2 separate regions of the Homo sapiens genome follow, and region 1 is linked to region 2. The links are contacts of gene promoters, found by promoter capture Hi-C in human tissues and cell types (Jung and others, 2019). All regions are on one chromosome and are shown on one strand. Each heading gives the region's core, a stretch centred on a gene start or on the middle of the fragment in contact. The rest is flanking DNA. Distances are from core to core; before and after follow the strand shown.

What was found. The method cuts DNA at HindIII sites, captures the fragments that hold promoters and counts their contacts. A contact is called where the count stands out against the background at its distance.
Region 1: a contact is called between a fragment that was not itself captured here and the fragment with the promoter of WNK2 in region 2, in 1 of the 25 tissues and cell types used here (spleen).

The regions. Positions count from the first base shown.
Region 1 is chr9:94,183,417-94,186,116 of GRCh38, forward strand. MIRLET7A1HG (miRlet-7a-1/let-7f-1/let-7d cluster host gene) reads left to right here. Exons shown (of 5, transcript NR_170278.1): 4 at 1-30. The region is part of intron 2 of LINC02603 (long intergenic non-protein coding RNA 2603); the gene reads right to left. Among named protein-coding and RNA genes, the nearest start is that of MIRLET7D, 5.9 kb to the left of the region's middle. The HindIII fragment of the contact is 5,249 bases long and covers 1-2,700 here.
Region 2 is chr9:93,182,795-93,185,494 of GRCh38, forward strand. WNK2 (WNK lysine deficient protein kinase 2) reads left to right here and starts at 1,345. Exons shown (of 30, transcript NM_006648.4): 1 at 1,345-1,591; 2 at 2,134-2,700. The coding sequence starts at 2,136. The HindIII fragment of the contact is 13,924 bases long and covers 1-2,700 here.

The DNA.
Region 1 (2,700 bases), core at 127-2,626, 1.0 Mb after region 2:
GCTGCTGCAGCCATCTTGTGACCACGAAGGGTAGGTTAGGTCAATAATACCAACCAAGAGTTCTGACATTACTGAGCTGTTGAGTCAATGCCAGCATCTGCTCTCCTCTACACTTTGTATTATATGAGAAAAATGAACTACCTTATAGTGAATGGGGGTTATGAGACTTGCAGGGAAAAGCTCTCCTCACAGGATCCCACATAGGGAAGTCCAGGGAAAGCCCCTAAATGTGAGGGAAGAGGAAAGGTGCTAAGGGGCCATCAGGAAGAAGCCTATGGCTTAGATAAGGATGGTAGACAATGGATCTCTGACATCTGTAGCAGGACCCTGAACGTGAGCATGAACATGAAGTGGTAAGAGGCTGATGGCAAGACCACATTTCTGAAACTGGGATCTTACAAGTGGCAGGCAGCAAGGACCAAGCTCAAGACAGTATGGACCAAACAGTAAGGACACCCCTTCTTAGTGCTGACATGAGTTAAGCCCTTTGGAAATTTAGATCCTCTTGAATTTGATAAACTAACTCTCCTAAAAACTGCTTTAAATCGAGACAGTTCTCTTAAATGGATGAAATTTCAGTGTTCTGCCATTAGTAGACATGGGGGCTCAAGATACTCGGCAACAAAAGTTTTTGTTACATTTTTGCTCTCTTGAATGGCAACTGTAAACTTTGAACCTCTGCAGTTACCCTAATGCAGAACTTATTATTTATAGACTTTTTGATGATTTACAATGAAATACTGATATAGAAACAGATGTTTAAAAGAAAACTGTATAGCTTGTCTCACTTAAGTAACGTAGCCTAAGTTTCTTAAACCCAAGATCTCATTTTAGCTACCTAGGTATATTGTCCAGAGTACTGAATATGAGCACATTTCACATGACAGGCTCTTAAATGCAAGTGTGTGTGCGTGTATGTGTCTGTGGTGTGTGTGTGTGTGTGTGTAGTCCTTGCATTGCCTGGCATCTTGTTACAGTAATTCATGCACATAAGAACCATGTCCTTGCTTTGCCTTGCCTGGTAGAGAACTATGCAAAGCAAGAACAAGGCTCCAGTATGAACAAGTTTGTATTAGCATGGTATCATGAAATGTAAGAACTCCCTGTGTATGCTGTATGTACCCTTTCCTTCTTAAAATATGCCCAGCACCCTTCTATGTCTTTGTCTTCTCATTAGTCTTGGAAATACTGGTCATAGGTCCTCATGGGGAACTAACTTCTCTAAGCTTTCAGGTTGTATCATCCAGCCCATTGGCAGCTACTTAGGAAGCTTTTTATACTCTACCCTGAAGTGTGGTGTTTTAACTAGGTCTGAAAGCAGAGGAGTGACCCAGTAGAGGGTCACTGACCAAAATGAGAAATGAGGTGGTTGAGAAAATCTGAAAAGATGCACAAGGTTTCAGGTATAATACATTTGTCTAATATCTCCCAAGATTGCAAATAAGTTTCCCTAAGTAGTCTTATGATTATTTTATTATCTTGGGCACTTCAGTATAGGGGAAAGAAGGGCAGAGTATGGTGAATGGCAGAGCAGAAGATGCCTAAATAGTTGGGAAAAATAATCCTGTGACTGGAAAACTGCATTAAAAATAATATCTGGCCAGGCGCGGTGGCTCACGCCTGTAATCCCAGCACTTTGGGAGGCTGAGGCAGACGGATCACGAGGTCAGGAGATCAAGACCATCCTGGCTAACATGGTGAAACCCCATCTCTACTAAAAATACAAAACAAATTAGCCGGGCATGGTGATGGGTGCCTGTGGTCCCAGCTACTCGGGAGGCTAAGGCAGGAGAATGGTGTGAACCCGGGAGGCGGAGCTTGCAGTAAGCCGAGATCATACCACTGCACTCCAGCCTGGGTGACAGAGTGAGACTCCATCTCAAAAAATAATAATAATAATAATATCTTGTTGATACATCCTTCTTTTGTGATTGGGGGAAATGGTGACTTAATCCCTAAAGGAATCATGTAATATGTAGACCTTTGAATATGGCTTTTTTCATTTAGCCTGTTTTTAAGGTTCATTCTTGTTGTGATATATATATTTTTGAAATAGGTTCTCACTCTGTTTTCCAGGCTGGAGTGCAGCATTGTGATCTTGACTCACTGCAGTGTCGACCTCCTGAGCTCAACTGTTTCTTTATATTTCTGAGTAGTATTTTCTTGTATAGATATCAAATCTTCTTTATCTTCTTTTTTTTTTTTTTTTTTTTTTTTTTTAGACAGAGTCTCGCTCTGCACACCCAGGCTGGAGTGCAGTGGTGCTATCTCGGCTCACTGTAAGCTCTGCCACCCGAGTTCACGCCATTCTTCTGCCTCAGCCTCCCGAGTAGCTGGGACTACAGGCGTCCGCCACCACGCCCAGCTACTTTTTTGTATTTTTAGTAGAGGCAGGGTTTCACCATGTTAGCAGGGATGGTCTCGATCTCCTGACCTGGTGATACGCCCACCTCGGCCTCCCAAAGTGCTGGGATTACAGGCGTGAGCCACCGCACCTGGCCTTTTTTTTTTTAATTTTAATTTTTTTTTTTTTTATGTTTTTGAGATGGAGTCTCACTCTGTCTCCCAGACTGGAGTGCGGTGGCATGATTTTGGCTCACTGCAGCCTCCACTTTCCAGGTTCAAGCCATTCTCCTGCCTCAGCCTCTGGAATAGGTGGGATTACAGGCGCTTGCCACCACGCCTGGCTATTTTTATGTT
Region 2 (2,700 bases), core at 95-2,594:
ACACGGTAGATTAGATTATATAAATAACAGGCAAGTGCCAAATGCATAGCCCTACACCTAGCACACTATTTAACCACTGGCTCTCTGGGGAGAAAAGTCCTGATTTGAGGTGTTTGCCAATTTCCGCAGTGTAAATACTCCCAGCATTGCTGACTTCAGGCTACAGGGTGGCATTGCTGAACCCAGAGCTGGGAAGGGATGTTCACTGTTGCCCCTCACAAATTAGTTTCAGCCAGTGCCAGTGCCCAGCGGGGCTCCAGGAAGTCCTGCTTCTCTGGGTAACAGTTGGCCTGGCATATTCTTCCCTCTACATTGTGAAGGTGAGATATCGCCTCTGCTGGCTTTTATGCCACATGAGTTATTTTGTGCCAGGGGCTCCAAGGCCTACAGGCCCACAAGCATCTTTTCATCTCTGGAAGTGTGTGTGTATCTGATGGGGGTGCCAGCCCAGTGGGATGGGGACTGAGATGAGAATACTCTGGTATCTCCCTTGTGCCTCAGTTTCCTCACCTAGGATCATGGAGGCTGGGGTAAGGGTGAAGTGTTAGCTCAGGGCATTGCCTGGAGCAGGGCTCAGAACTTAGCAGTATGGTTACTGACACAGGTCACCTGCTGCATTAGGGCCAGAGACGCCCAAGAGAGGGCTTGTCCGTGGGGGTCTAGAGGAGGAAGGAGCTAGAGATCATGGAAGACTTCTCGGGAGAGGTGGCATCTGGCAGAGGTGGGAAGGAAGAACACTTTGGGTCAAGGGGCTTCTGGAAGCCTCTCCATATCCCATCCAAGGCATTCCAGCTCAGCTTCGGTCTTGAAAGTTCTGGGATTTAGAGCATATAACTTCTGCCTTTGGCGCCTCAGTTTGCTCTAGACTGTGAAATGGGCATAATGATCACCAGTGCCTCCCTGGGTGATGATGAGGTCCTCATGGTTCCTGGTGGTGAAGTGAGGGCAGGAAAGGACACGCTGAGCCCCACCAGGCTTAGCCCCAGGCTGGGCTCCCGAGGGCGGCGGTACCCCTGGTCCTTTTCTTCCTAGCCTGCCCATTCTGTCCTGGCACAGGGCCTTGAGGTCTAGCGCGCCGGGCTGCGGCGTGCTGAGGCGTTGAGCCTGCTGCCTCCTCTCAGGAAGAAACGGGGTCCTCCGCAGCTGACAGCCCTGCGGGGCGTTCCAAAGAACTTCAGAGGACAGGAGCGCTACCTCGAGCAAAGAACCGCGGGTGGGAGCCCAGGTAGCCGGCCCGCAGGTGGCCGCGCGCGCCTGCCAGTCAGCCAGCCCGTCCGCAGCCAGGTGGGCGTGCCAGGCCCAGCCCCCTGCGCCGGTCCGGGGCGGGGCGAACGGAGCCCCGCCCTCCCCGCGCGCCGGGTCGGAGCCGGTGCGGGAGCGGAGCCGCGCGAAGCCGGCAGGAGCACGCGGGAGCGCGGCCCCGCAGTGGCCCGGCCCGAGAGAGCAGCGCGCAGGAGCTGGAGCGGCGCCACGGCCCCCACCCCAGCGCGGACCTCGCCCGGAACTCGGACCCCGTCCTCGAAGCGTGATCTCTCCCGCCTCGCACGCCCTGGCCGCCGGGCCGCGGGCATGGACGGCGTCCGCTCGCCCTGTGAGTGCCGAGCCTCCCCTCAACGCCGCTCGCCGCCTTTGTGTGCGCGCCGCGGCGCTGCAGCCCCCTCCCCGCGCGCCCCTCCCGCGCCCCGGGCCCGCGTCCTTTGTGGAGCCGCCGCCGGGCCACTGCCTTCCTCCCACCCCCGGGCTTCCCTATCCCCTTTACAGCTGCCTCCGGGACAGCCTAGCAGAACCCTCCTGGGCCAGGGCTGGGCAGGGCGCGAGATCCCTCTGCCGGCCTCCGGGGCCCTCAGGGACACCCTAGCAGGTCCTCTCTCCCAGGGTTCCAGGGACACCACAGGCCCGTCCCTCTCCGCAGCCTGGGGCTGAGCAGGGCACGGACCCCTCCTCCCCAACCCAAGCCTCTGGTCCCGTCTGCAGCCCCCCTTTCCCAGGGCCCCCAGAGACGGCCCCCGCAGGCTCTCTCCGCGGCCGGGGCTGGGCAGGTTGCGGGCTTAGGGCGGCGTTGTCTCATCCGGCGGCCTGGGCAGGTGCGGCAGGGCCGGCGCTCACGCGGGCCTGTGTGTCCTTGGCCCACAGAGATGGACGGCGATGGCGGCCGCCGAGACGTCCCCGGCACGCTGATGGAGCCCGGGCGCGGCGCGGGGCCCGCGGGCATGGCGGAGCCTCGGGCGAAGGCGGCGCGGCCGGGGCCCCAGCGCTTTCTGCGGCGCAGCGTGGTAGAGTCGGACCAGGAGGAGCCGCCGGGCTTGGAGGCAGCCGAGGCGCCGGGCCCGCAGCCCCCGCAGCCCCTGCAGCGCCGGGTGCTTCTGCTCTGCAAGACGCGCCGCCTCATCGCGGAGCGCGCCCGCGGACGCCCCGCCGCCCCCGCGCCCGCAGCGCTGGTAGCGCAGCCGGGAGCCCCCGGAGCCCCCGCGGACGCCGGCCCCGAGCCCGTGGGCACGCAGGAGCCCGGCCCGGACCCCATCGCAGCCGCTGTCGAAACCGCGCCTGCCCCCGACGGCGGCCCCAGGGAGGAGGCGGCGGCGACCGTGAGGAAGGAGGATGAGGGGGCGGCCGAGGCGAAGCCTGAGCCCGGGCGCACTCGCCGGGACGAGCCCGAAGAGGAGGAGGACGACGAGGACGACCTCAAGGCCGTGGCCACCT